4 separate regions of the Homo sapiens genome follow, and all the other regions are linked to region 3. Evidence: promoter capture Hi-C in 16 types of primary human blood cells and fetal thymus (Javierre and others, 2016). All regions are on one chromosome and are shown on one strand. Each heading gives the region's core, a stretch centred on a gene start or on the middle of the fragment in contact. The rest is flanking DNA. Distances are from core to core; before and after follow the strand shown. Region 1 has its middle 2.8 kb from the start of LINC00658. Region 2 holds the start of LINC01729 (long intergenic non-protein coding RNA 1729). Region 3 holds the start of FERMT1 (FERM domain containing kindlin 1). Region 4 overlaps LOC107985411 (a long non-coding RNA gene).

Region 1 (3,379 bases), core at 767-3,266, 670 kb before region 3:
GACAGATTCTCACTCTATCACCCAGGCTGGAGTGCAGTGGTGAGATCTCAGCTCACTGCAACCTCCGTCTCCCGAGTTCAAGCGATTCTTCTGCCTCAGCATCCCGAGTAGCTGGGACTACAGGCGCACGCCACCATGTCCGGCTAATTTTTGTATTTTTAGTAGAGACTGAGTTTCACCATACTCTCCAGGCTGGTCTCAAACTCCTGACCTCGTCATCTGCACGCTTTGGCCTCCCAAAGTGCTGGGATTACAGGTGTAAGCCACCACGCCCAGTCTGTATTGTTATTTTTATTGCTATTGTTAATATAAACGAGGCCTCAGGACTTAGAGCTTCACAACTAAATAATACCTGTGTACATCATTTTGTATTTTCAAGTTGTTTTTACAAATATCATCTTATCTGATGCACATTATAACTGAATGAGATAAATGGGACAAACGTCATCCCTATTTACAGATAAGGACAAAATCCCAAAGATTTGCAGAGCTACAGGGCTGGTTAGAGCAGGTCCCTCCTCCAAGAGCAGATCTCCCTCCCTTAGTATTATCTCACCCCTCCGGGCCTGGGAAACCTAAAGATACTTTGTGAACGCATGTCTGTATCTACAGAAAGCTCTGCTAGTTAAAGAAACTACCCTAGACCAAGCTGCGCTCTAAGGGGCTGGTGAGCTCTGTTATTTTTAAAATTACTTTAAATATTTTTTCTTTTTAATTAAAATAATGAGTCAAACATAGGGAGGATTACAGAAAATAATTTGGAACCAATCAGATTTATCTGAGGTGACCTTTTGCCACAGATGCTTGAAGTCCATCCATCTCTCTTATGAAATGAAATGTTACAGAAACAGCTCATTCTCTCCCTCCTCACTACTCCTTGCCTCCCTCCCAAGGCTACTTCCATCCTGAGTAGTGCTTTCTTCAGTTGCATGTTGATCTACTGTTATATACAAGAATGAGTTACAAGTCATATGCCATCAGCTTTGCATTTTGCAAGAATTTTCACAAATATTATGCTATCGCATGTACAGACTTTAGGCTCACTGCTGAACAATGCCCTGGGCTTCTTTCATTTTTCTGCATGTCTCACTCCTCTGGCTATGCCTGTTTGGGCTGGGAGAGAATACAGGGAATGTCCAAGATATTAGCAGTTCCTATGGCAGCAAGTGCTGGTTTCTGTGACTGTGGTTCCCTAAGAGAGGCAGAAAAGCAAGGGGACTAAGCTTCCACTGTGCACTTAATCGCAGGGCCATAGCCCAAGTAGGTTGTAAAGGCCGATGACATCCCAAGACAGGCTGGAACTTGAACTGACATTTTACAGAGGAAAACCAGGCCCAGAAAAGAGAATGGTTGCTTTAATGTCACACTTCCAGAAATTGGTAAAGCAGGAACCATCTCAGAGCTTATGACACCTTTGTACTAAACACATTGCCTTTAGGCAGTCTTATTCTTCATCCAGTAAACAGCAGACCATGGATTTGATTGTTTTCTTTCTTTTCTTTTCTTTTCTTTTCTTTTCTTTTTTTTTTTTTTTTGAGACGGGAGTCTTGCTTTGTCGCCCAGGCTGGTGTGCAGTGGCGCAAACTTGGATTTGATTGTTTTCTTGCCTCTGCTCCCCTGAGGAAAATGCCAGCAAACTATAAAATTTCATTCCCTGAGATCCTGGCAAGCTACATTGGACTTAGGTGTCTGCTGTTTCTGGGAGGCAGCAAGGATCTGAGTTTGGGGGAAGATCAGGTCACCGGGCTGAAGAGTAGCCCGAAGATCTTTTTTACCTGGATCGCCCTCTGGTGGCAGATTCGATAACAACCGCTCTAATTCATCATCTGAAATGCAAAGTGGTTGCAGCTCAAGTTTTCCTTGCTCCTCTTGGGACTTGCTCGTTCCTCATTAAAGCATCCCTATGCCCACTCTATACAAGACACATTTACTTTGAGCTGCATCCCTGAGATAATCGACTCCAAGCCAATATTTCTGTGTGTCAGTCACAGTAACTGGAGCTGTGGCATGGAAAATAAGAAGAAAGCATTGTTCCTGACCCCAAGGAATTTAAGTTAACTGGGTGAGACAGGCATACAGGCAGCTGACCAGACTCGGAGTCAGTGTGACCGAGAATGGACAGGCTGGGGGAATGCAGAGGGAGGAGGCCTTGGTGGGGAAGCTAGTGTCTGAGTTCTCAAGGAGCAATGGGAATTCTGAAGTTGGAGAGGGGCAGGGACACTGGAGGAGGGGAGGACAGGGCATGGCCCCTTCCTCCCTCCCTGTTTCCCCTTCTCCTTGGGGCCTTGCTCTCTTTCTCTTCCTCTTTACTCACCCCAGTACCAATAGCCCTACAATTCATGACCACCCGAAGCGTCCATTTTCTGGGAGAAGATTGGGCTCCTTAGCCTCTTCCTACAGACCTTTCTCTCTGAGTCTTCCCATGGGTCCTTCTGACATCTGAATAGAATGACCAAGGCATAAATCTCAATCATCGAGGTTTATTAAGTCAGCTTGAGGGTGCTTCCGGGAAAAATACAAGCCACAGGTACATCTGTGGCTGTTTTTCTCAAGAGAGTTTCAGGGGATTTAGTATTTACACATTTCCTTAAATGGGGGAAAGGCTTTTAGGAAAAAGGGCAGACAGGTGGTAAGGCGAATGGCTACATTCCTGTGAGACTCTAGCTGCTGCCTGGTAAATCTACATTTTACATAAGACAAATTGGATGTTTGAAAATAAAAAGAGAGTAAAGGAAGAGTCAAGTATGCAGATGTCTCTGGGTAGGTATAGGAATGAGTCTTGTCTTTATTCTGCACCTGCACTTCTATCTAAGCTTGCGATCAACATTATCAGCATGGAATCAACTTTAATTTTAGGAGCTAGGCTGGGCACGGTGGCTCACGCCTGTAATCCCAGCACTTTGGGAGGCCAAGGCGGGCAGATCACTTGGGGTCAGGAACTCGAGACCAGCCTGGATGAAATGGTGAAACTCCATCTCTACTAAAAATACAAAAATTAAGGCCGGGTACAATGGCTCATGCCTGTAATCCCAGCACTTTGGGAGGTCAAGGCAAGTGGATCACCTAAGGTCAGGAGTTCGAGACCAGCCTGACCAACATGGTGAAACCCTATCTCTACTAAAAATACAACAATTAGCTGGGTGTGGTGGCGCATGCCTGTCCAAGCTACTCAGGAGGCTGAGACAGGATAATCGCTTGAACCCAGGAGGCGGAGGTTGCAGTGAGCTGAGATCACGCCATTGCACTCCAGCCCAGGCAATAAGAATGAAATTCCTTCTCAAAAAAAAAAAAAAAAAAAAAATTAGCCAGGCATGGTGGCATGCACCTGTAATCTCAGCTACTTGGAAGGCTGAGGCAGGAGAATCGCATGAACCCAGGG
Region 2 (3,439 bases), core at 286-2,785, 610 kb before region 3:
ACTTCTGTGCTCGACCTGGAAGTTTGTGCTCAGCCTGGGAGCTTCACCAGGGAAACTGTGGCAGGAGACAAGGTCTTGATTCTGAGGCCTCTCTCTCAACCCAGTACAACCTCTCTGCTAGAATTTGAAAAAAAAAACATGGTATTTGTGGTACCCTCAGAGACTGGATTTAAGGGACATGTGTTGCCTAAGTCCCATCTTCAAAATGACCCAGCAGTGACACTGTTCCTTTTTACTCTGTAGGGCACATTTCTCACCTGCATTATGGCCCAGGAATCTCAAGTCACCATCCCTACCATGGTCACCCCAATTTGAAGCAGCCTGGTGACCCCAGGCAGGAACTGATCATCAAGGGAGGCTGGAGGCAGGAGGATTTTAAAAGAAATCCAACAGCAGGACCAAAACAAGGAAAAAGGGGAGGCAGGAGGGTGGTCAACTAGAGACCCAGGAGAGGATTCCAGGATGGTGGGAAGCCCTCACCCAGCAAGACTGGTGGAGGCCCCATCTGTGCTCTGCCCCTTTCAAGAGGTTTCCTTTGCACCAACACCCACCCCCACCCTGGCCACTGACCTGCAGGAACAGCAGATATGACTGTGGGGCCCCAAGGCCTGCGGGAACCCAGGGACCGAGAGAAGGCAGGTGTTGGGTTGAGCAGGATCCAGGTTAGCCGGGGAGGGACGTGGGAGTCCTTGTCAGAGAAGGATGTGAAGGGATTGGGATGAAGGAGTCCAGGAGGAGCAGCAGGACCCGAGGCCCTCCCTCTGCACACACCCTTTTCCTGCTGGGCTCAGGCCCTGGCAACAGTGCCTTATTTATTTCCCCCACCCTTGCTCAGGCTTAGCCAGTCCTTGCTCCAATGATGGGGGAGGGGTCACAGTGGGACTCTTGTGACATCACTACATCCCACCCCTCATTCTTTCCTGTGAAATCCTCCTGGAGCCATCTCTGTCCTATGCCCTGTCCCAGAGAGCCCCCCTGCTATAATGCTTCCTTCCTTCCTTCTAGCCACTGCCTCCCTCGCCCCATCCACCCCCCAACTATTCAGTGTCCCTCAGTAAACGTCCCAAGTTTGCAACAGAAAATGAAAATGTAACTCAGAAAAGGTGGCATTCACACTTCACACCTTCATACAGAAATCCAAGCAAAGCTCTTGAATCCAGAATCAGGATGCCTTCCAGAGCCAGCTGTTTCAAGACGCTGCTAGAGGCAGTGAAGAGCGCAGGAGGCCTGCCTAGCAGCTGCAGGGAGGGGCGGAGGATTGGGGTCGCCCTCTCAGGGAGGGCAGAGGAGGGTTAGAATGCATCTGACCCTGCATTCTAAAATACCTGCTAGCACTGGATGCTGCGGTGTCCATGGTACTGAAGACAAGACTCTGCTGCCTGGTCCACCACTGTTATGACTACAGTGGCCCCCAGTCTAATGTTGCCATCAAGATTGGTAGTCCAGGCCGGGTGTGGTGGCTCACACCTGTAATCTCAGCACTTTGGGGGGCCAAGGTGGGAGGACTGTTTGAGCTCAGGAGTTCCAGAACAGCCTTGGCAACATGGCAAAACCCCATCTCTACTTAAAAAAGAAAAAAAAATGAGCCAGGCATGGTGGCTCACGCCTGTAATCCCAGCACTTCGGGAGGCCAAGGCGGGTGGATCACCTGAGGTCAGGAGTTTGAGACGAGCCTGACCAACAAGGAGAAACCCTGTCTCTACTAAAAATACAAAATTAGCCGAGTGTGGTGGCTCATGACTGTAATTCCAGCTACTCGGGGGGCTGAGACAGGAGAATTGCTTGAACCTGGGAGGCGGAAGTTGCAGTGAGCCAAGATCATGCCATTGCACTCCAGCCTGGGCAACAAGAGCGAATCTCCATCTCAAAAAAAAAAGGCAATCTAGATGCACTGGATATGACCAGCAGAAACATGGAGAAACACAGTTCTTAGTGGGGTCAGGCCTTGTGAAGTAGCAGCCTGCGGTTTGGACGAGGCCAGCCTGGCTCTGTGGTCACCCACAGTCAACCCCACCACAGGGGCTGCAGGGACTGAGAGAAGGGTTGGAGTGTGTTATCCAGCTCTTCTGAGAAGCAGACACCAAGACAGGATTAAATTGCAAGGGTTTTAGTGGGAGATATACCTTTGTGAAAAGAGTTACAAAAGACTGGGAGAGCCACCGGACCATGAAGCAAGTCTCACTCCCAATGTGAGGGAGAGAGGGGAAGAGAAGGGGTGGGAGCACTCCGGACCACAGTTCTGAGGAAAATCCAGAGCCTTCACCAACTATTTGAAACAGTCAGGCAGCAAAGTAGGTCTGGGCAACCAGCCTGGCCTTAGCATCCCCACCACACTCGGTCATCAGAGAGCTGCCGCAGGAGGCCTGGCCTGATGCACTACAAGGTAGATACCTGTGAGGAGCCACACTCCCTCCAGGAGGTCAGCCACAGCATCCTGGACACTGAGGTTGGGGACCACGGATGGAAGTGTAGCTGAGAGAACCCAGAGGTTCCTGGGCCCAGGGGCCCAAGCCAGGACCAGCAAGAGAACACTCACAGAAAGAACTAGAAGACCTCCTTGCTGGTGGGGTTGTCTTAGAAGGGAGCAGGCAGGTGGGACCAGAACCTCCTGCAAGAAACTAGAACATCATCTGTGGGGCTCAGAGATTGGGTGGTGTCAGGAAAGAGGCTCTTCTCTATTTATTTTTAAAATCAAACTTATACATTCACAGGGAACAATCAAGTAGTCAAAAAACACCTAAGAGGCTTTATCTCAGAAAACTGCAACTCTGTCCCCCTTTCCTCATTGCCTGCCCACAAAACCATTTTCCTGTCTTTGAGCTGAGTCACAGACCTTCTTCTGTGCTGTCTCCTTCTCCCAGGGTGATGGTGACCCCCTCTGTTCCCTGAGCCCTTATAGCTATGCGGGATTGCTGCATTGGTCATTTGTTGCAGCAATTTGGTAATAATTTGACACTTAACTTTGTTTTCCACATATATAGCATCTTATAGAAGATTAAATGAGATTTTAACTCCTGGTGCCGATTTTCTCCAGAATTGATATTTATGTTAAACCCCTGATAAAATACATGTTGGAGTTCTTTGGCACTATCCCCACCACAGTGTTAGGGCCTCTATTCAAACCCCTGCAATGCCTAAGAGACCCCACATTTATCCAAGGGTCTGCCCTGTTCCCACATGAACTTCTAGCACCAATCTTTCCTCCAGTGCCTCCCAGCTGTACTTGTTGGGGACACATGAACACCAGGAATCTCCAAATCATGCTTATATTCTTCCCAACATAAACTTGGACCTCATTCCCCCCGATTCCACTTCACACTGCTGTCGAGCTCTTAAGGTTTGAAGCCCCTGCACTCAGAGCTGCAGATCCCCCCGTTTGACTCCAACCCCTCTCCTCCCGGAGTCTGGCCCTCTCCTCAGGGCTCGATTTCCCTTTGAT
Region 3 (3,186 bases), core at 601-3,100:
TGGCATGATCTTAGCTCACTGCAACCTCTGCCTCCCGGGTTCAAGCAATTCTCTGCCTCAGCCTCCCAAGTAGCTGAGATTACAGGCGTGTGCCACCACGCCCGGTTAATTTTTGTATTTTTAGTAGAGACAGGGTTTCACCATGCTGGCCAGGCTGGTCTTGAACTCCTGATCTCGTGATCCACCTGCCTTGGCCTCCCAAAGTGCTGGCATTACAGGCGTGGGCCACCACGCCCAGCCGTTCCTTATGTTTCTATAGTCAGAAGCATGCAACGATGCAATGCATCTCCTCCCCATGCACAGAGATCCACACAGAACCCTCTGCATGAGGAGTGCCACTCAGTGACTGCATTAGGCCTAACTGCTTGCCTCTGTCATCATCAGCTTCAGGTATCATTTATTACCTACTGACTGTATGATGTGCTCTGTGTTAACTCCTGTCTTCTGTTATCCCTTTTTCATCCTCTCAGCAATCTCATTTAGAAATGAGGAAACTCAGCCTCAGAGAGATGAAGCAAGTTGCCTGAGGTCACACAGCAAGTTAGATGCTGGAGCCCAGGTGGAAATCCAGGTCTGCCTTTCTATTTCAAACTCTTATTCACCACACTGGGAAACCACTTTGATAATGTTGCAATGCCAAAATGAAAGAAAACTCCTCAAACTACGTGAACTAAATTCTCAGTAGCCTTTACTAAGCATTTCTATCAACACAAATCTTGCGCAGTGAGGAGACAAAAGATGCCCCTTCATCGTCAAACTCATAACTTGGCATTGAACTGTTCGACTTTAAGATCCTTACAATTTCTTAAATGCTATAATTGTGAAGTCTAGTTATTTAAAATGTTTTGTATATAAAGAAAATAACTTTTAAAGGTGATTCCTTACTGCTTATTTCACTGGGCAATCTGATATAAGGTCTTTTCCTAACTTGGGTGATCAAAACACTACTCATTCAGGCAATAGATGCTGATTCCCCTTACAACAAAATGCAGGCTAAAATTAGCCAAGCTGGTTTTCCTGCATTCCTTTCCTATCTTTCTGTGCCTTCATTTTTGAGTGAACGTCTAGTCTGCAGCAAGCTGTTACTTGTCAAGGATAGCAGCAAACTTCAGCCGGGAAAACGCATCTAAGGAGACCAAAACAAGAAGCAAAGTTACTGGCAGAGTGCTGAAAAGCCCTTCGCAGACAGTCAAAGAAACGAAAGCATGGAGGGATGGAGAGCAGGAAGGAGGAAAGATGAGGGGGAAACAGTCCCCGACCCTTCCCCTGGAATATCTGAAGGTGCTTGGTGTTCGAAGGCCACCCGACCTGTCTTTTGCCAGCTCTGCAGGATCCTGGGGCGGATGTTGGGTGGATAAAGCATGCCCCTTACTCCCATTAAGGCAGCACCTGCGGCTGAACTGAAAGTTTATTTTGCGGCCAGATGCGTAGGGCCGGAGAAGGTGGTCACATCCAGACGAAATTATTTTCAATCAACAGCTATTTAAGTACAAGAGGCTGCAGAAAGAAAGGGGCTAAGGGGGCTCAGGAGCCACTGGTGCCCATGAAAGCCTCCCAACCTCTAGCTCCCCAGCCCTAGCTCCGGAGCACCCACCTCCTTTCCAGGAGCCCGTAGCGTCCAGCCTCGCAGTCGCGCACGTGGAGAGCTGCGTCCCTACAAACTACCCCGGGCCGAGCCGAGGAGCGGGCGCTGGCGAAGTGGGGAGCGGGGGGCGCCCAGTGGCGGCGGCTGCTCAGCTAAGGCTGCGGCAGGTGAGGGCTGGAGCCAGGGCGAGCAGGCGAAGCTGCCTCGGGACCTCCCACGGAGGCTCGGTGCCTGCCCCCAGCCTGGCGCGGCGTGCCCGGTGCACTGCACGGCCCCAGCGGCCCGGCTGAGGGCAGCGCGCAGCGTGGCAGGCGAGGGCACGCCCAGCCCCGGGCCTGCTAGGTCTCGCTCCCGCGGAGAGGAGGCGCAGTCTGCAGATTTTTAAGGGCAAAGGGTGGCCGAAGGGCTGCTCGGCGGAGAGAAGGCGGCGAGAACCCGGGGCGCACGCTCAGTATCTGCAGCTCCTCTTGCGATGTCTCATCCTGACGCTTTAAGGCCGCCTCCAGTTTCCCTGTTCCCCCAGGCCCGCCGGGGACTAGCCCAGATGATTAAAGCCGCGCCACTTCCCCTCCTTTCAGGCATACCCATCACTCACACCCCGGGGTGCGTCCAGGCCCAGGAGACTCCAGCCTCCCGCCTAGAACAGCTGCCTCCCTCAGAAAGAGCCCCGGAGCACTTGTGGTCAGGGAGGTGAAGGCAACGACAAAACGATTCGTCTCTGAGTAAGAGGGTGGTGTCAGTCTCCAGAAGGCTGAGGCTCCCGACCAGGGGAGACTCCAGGAGACCCAAGGGCAGGCTGCATGCGGAAGTCTGGGCCACACCTGGTATGGCTCACCTCAGGATCACCACCGGTCCCGCCAGTCGCCTTCCTGTTGGATTTATTTTCAAAGAGGGCTGGGGCCACCCAGGAAGGGTGGGTGACCTGGGCAGTTTACACAACCTCTCCAAGCCTCCTTTGTTCATTTAATCACATTTGTTGAGTGCTTACTGCTCTACAGGCCTCCCAATGGGCCTGGGCTCAGAGAATACAGTGGTTAATAAAACAGACATGGAAATGACAGTTTCCTCATCTGTGAAATAGGTACAGAGATAGAATGCGTGCTCTTCCACGGAGGGATTTCATGCAATATAGTACAGGCTTTAGCGATTTGCATTAAAAGGCTTGTGAACACTTAAATTTTAATAAAGAAGTTATAAAATTTAGAAGTTGAATCTGTTTTCGCTTAAACATTACCATATTCAGGAATTATTATGGGTTTGAAAGTACATTTAATTTAAAAAGGTTAGTTGAACATTGTTGGCAAATATAGGATATTATAATTGAAATAAAATCATTAAAAACTTGAAACAGAATGTCTTCACTTGGTAGCGTTTGTCAACGATGGGAAGGGTCATCTGGTCCCACTTCCCTACCTCTTAACATCATGAAACCCTGCTTATGGCCCATTAGAACTTAGACTGTGGTCAGTGCGCGCGCGCGCGCGCGCACAAACACACACACACACACACACACACACACACACACACATATATTTTTTTGAGATGGAGTCTTGTTCTGTCCCCAGGCAGGAGTGCAGTGGCACGATCTTGGCTCACTGCTG
Region 4 (3,326 bases), core at 592-3,091, 660 kb before region 3:
AACAGTCTTAGATCAGCCATGGTTAAAGACACAATTGGCAAGAAAATTTGATTACTTCTGTAACAGAAAAAAATTTAACATAATAATTATAATTATTACTAATAACATACATTAAGACATCAGAATTATATGTATCTCATACAATTTTGGAAGACATATTAATAACACCCATAAAATATAATCCAAGGAAAGGCAAACACTGTTTCATATTTGACAAGGCTTTCTCTAGGATTTTAACATACCAAATAAACCCAATACGTCTCTCTTGGACTTTCAGGGACATTAATATCTAAAAGGTTAGTTTAAGGTCAAAAAGACTAAATTTAGAACTTGAAGCTTTGATTTTGAAAAGTTTGTCTAATATCAAAGGTTCAAAACACTTGATATCATAAAATAGGATGACAGATTACTGTAAACTAAGTCATTCACTTAGCCAAAGTGATAATTCACAAATTTACACTTCCCATTGCCCACCCCTCATGCCTTCCACCCTGAGATTTAACAATAGTGATGGTGGCAGGAGGCAGACAGGTACCTAGGTGGGAAGGGGTGGGTCCCTGGTGAGGCCCAACCTTCAAACCAGGGATGGCCTGAAGCCTGGAGGCCAAGCTGCCAGTTCCAGGTGGAGTCCCTGACTGGGAGTAAGAATTTCCTTGATGCCTTTCAGCCAGTTGATGGTGACTGGTTTTTTGGACCTACCCTTGAACCAATCAGCATGCACTTCCTCCCACTCATGGACCAATCAGCATGCACTTCCTCCATTCTGCACCTATAATAACCCCTAGACTCAGCAGGACTCAGACACACATTGGGATTACCTTCCTGCAGGTAGGAGCTACCCACTTTGGGTCTCCTCTCTGCTGAGAGCTGTTCTGTTGCTCAATAAAGCTCTTCTCCATCCTCACCCTCCAGTTGCCTGAGTAACCTCATTCTTCCTGGACTTGCGATAACAACTCAGGACCTGCGAACAGAGTGCACAAAAAGGGCTGTAACACTTTCCTGGCCAGCTCACTGAGCTGCAGGTCGTGATATGCTTCCCTGTTCACCAAACTGTGGGAGTGAAGAGTGGTGACCCTTCTGGGGACGCAGACCTCAGAATTCCCAAGCCAGAGCTGTAACACTATAGCCCTCCCGCCCTCCACCAGTGCTGGGCGGCTGCCAGATGTGACAGGAAGCAGTGGCGGGGCAGGCCAGCCCAGGAGCTGTGGGCTGGAGTTGGGGTGATGGGATTGAACAAGCCGTAACACAAATGGGCTGAAACACATTGCCTCCCACCGCTGTTTGCCATGCTGTCGCGCTGCGGGTGGTGGGAATGAGAGAGCTGTAACATGCACCCCCAACCCGTAGAGGATCTGCAGTTGCTGGCATCTCCAGGTTTTCAGGAGCCACCACATTCCCTTCATCCAGATGCTGGCAACTGCAGGAGAAGCCGCTTGTAGTATGCCTGCTCCAGCCGCAGCCTTGCATGGAGCCAGTGCCTATGCCGGTGCCTGGAGCCGTCCGCCCTGCTGCGGCAGTTGGCGTGCCTGGCTGTGTGCAGGGGCCACACTCCGCACTTGCTCACTCACACACCCTTCGCCTTTCTGCATCTGGCTTGCCCTCGGCAGGCATGGGATCTGGGCTGGTAGTGCAAGCTGGGCACAGCCTGCCAGGCTGAATGGGTGGAATGAACCCAGTGGGCGTGAGCAATATTCAAGTAGAGGCGCTGCCGGCCATGAGGTTTCTAGCTGGTGAAGCGACACCCAGAGGATCCTGTGACAATAGGATTTCTGAAATCTGCATTGGCTTGTGTACAATTTGGGCACTGTATGAGTCAATTGGGGGAAACAGTTTTTGAACAGGAGCTGCAGGGAATTAGAAAAATCTAAGGCAGACTGACAGAAAAGTCTTCAAAGGGAGACAAAAACAGGCTTTTCCTACTGATGAAATGGGACCTACTGTCGATGACTGCTACAGAGTTACTCTAGAAGAATTCAGAGGAAGATGTGAGGAGTTCACTCTGGAGCCACAGTGGCCGGTAGAGGCTGGAAAGAAGAGAGAAAGGAACTTACTGTCATTGCAATGACAATGACAATAAGATCTGAGCAAGAAGGACAGTAGGGAGAAGCTGGGAACAAAGACAGGAGGGCTTGGGATGTGCTTAAAGGAGAACACTTGGTTTATTTTCCCTGGGTTGGAGGGCTTAGGTATATTTTTGTCTTATAAGGTCCACAGTTAGATTTTCTTAAGGCACAGGGGAGCCATTGAGGGTTAGGGAGCTGGAGAGTGGTGTGATGAAAGGTATGTTTGCATAGCTTCTATAAGTAAATGTTTCTTTCCACTGGTTTCAGTGACAAGGCACCAGCTCTCCCGATACTGTGGTTCCCGCAGGAGTCCCCTATGCCTATGTAGGCACCACCCACTGTGACAGGAGATGCCCTTCCTGCCCACAGTGTCTGCCTGCATTTTGAGACTTTCTGCTTCCCCAGGGTGAGTGAGGAAGCTGGCAACAAGCCTCACTCAACGAGAGGAAACTTGAGGCCAGCTGGGCACTTGAGGGAAGGAGACCAGCAGTGGAACACAAGTCGGGGTCCCAGGATCCCTGGGCTTTACCTGACACTTCCACATTCCAACTGTGGGGTCCATAAGCAAGCCCTGCACCTTCTCAGTCTCAAGATCCACTGACAGCCATGCCATCCTCTCCCTGTCACCAAAGCAGTCTGGCCTTCCAGCTGGCCTCCAGATGCAAAGGCAGAGTCTGATGGAGACTTGGTGTCCTGAGAACTCCAGAATGGGCTGTCAGTGCTCTAATTTTTCAGGTATGTCTATTCCCATAATTTGAAAACAGTGATAACAATAATAATACCATCTATGGGGCACTTTCTACATGCAAGGCACTCCACTAAGCCCGTTAAGAATGCTATTTCAATCCTTATGATACACGTATGGTGTAGGAACCGTGATGCCACTTTTGTGGCTGAGGAAGCTGAGAGTAATAAAAGTTAATGGACTTGTCCAAAAGAATTCTTCTAACTCTAGAATTCAAACCCTCAATTCATGTGGCAGTAATTCTAAAGGGTCACCCATTGCATTTGCATGTCAGCCCCATCCTGTGAAAGTACAGATTCCCAAGGCTTCCCTGCAGACAGACTGAATTGGCCTGTCTCGGGCTGGGGCCTGAGAGAGCCTGCACTTTTAGCCACTGCACCACCACTTTCCACCTCCCCTACACTGCCGGGACAGATCGTATTTTCCCAAGATGGACACATCTATACATTTATTCCATGCCACCTGCTCTTCTTGCAATGTGATTAACCTTCCTCTTCCTGAAAGGTGGGGTCTAGTTT

Evidence for each region. The method cuts DNA at HindIII sites, captures the fragments that hold promoters and counts their contacts. A CHiCAGO score of 5 or more calls a contact.
Region 1: a fragment that was not itself captured here is called in contact with the fragment with the promoter of FERMT1 in region 3 in 1 of 17 cell types (total CD4 T cells); the score reaches 5.6 in total CD4 T cells.
Region 2: a contact is called between a fragment that was not itself captured here and the fragment with the promoter of FERMT1 in region 3, in 1 of 17 cell types (total CD4 T cells). The highest score is 5.2, in total CD4 T cells.
Region 4: a contact is called between a fragment that was not itself captured here and the fragment with the promoter of FERMT1 in region 3, in 1 of 17 cell types (total B cells). The highest score is 6.3, in total B cells.

What each region holds. Positions count from the first base shown.
Region 1 is chr20:5,446,889-5,450,267 of GRCh38, forward strand. No RefSeq gene overlaps it. Among named protein-coding and RNA genes, the nearest start is that of LINC00658, 2.8 kb to the left of the region's middle. The HindIII fragment of the contact is 1,590 bases long and covers 1,222-2,811 here.
Region 2 is chr20:5,509,306-5,512,744 of GRCh38, forward strand. LINC01729 (long intergenic non-protein coding RNA 1729) reads right to left here and starts at 697. Exons shown (of 3, transcript NR_109860.1): 1 at 571-697. The HindIII fragment of the contact is 7,387 bases long and covers 1-3,439 here.
Region 3 is chr20:6,121,180-6,124,365 of GRCh38, forward strand. FERMT1 (FERM domain containing kindlin 1) reads right to left here and starts at 1,851. Exons shown (of 15, transcript NM_017671.5): 1 at 1,595-1,851. RefSeq lists a silencer at 1,737-1,856. The HindIII fragment of the contact is 14,554 bases long and covers 1-3,186 here.
Region 4 is chr20:5,463,969-5,467,294 of GRCh38, forward strand. It overlaps LOC107985411 (a long non-coding RNA gene), which reads right to left. Exons shown (of 3, transcript XR_001754485.1): 2 at 819-961; 3 at 1-57. Among named protein-coding and RNA genes, the nearest start is that of LINC00658, 20 kb to the left of the region's middle. The HindIII fragment of the contact is 3,015 bases long and covers 335-3,326 here.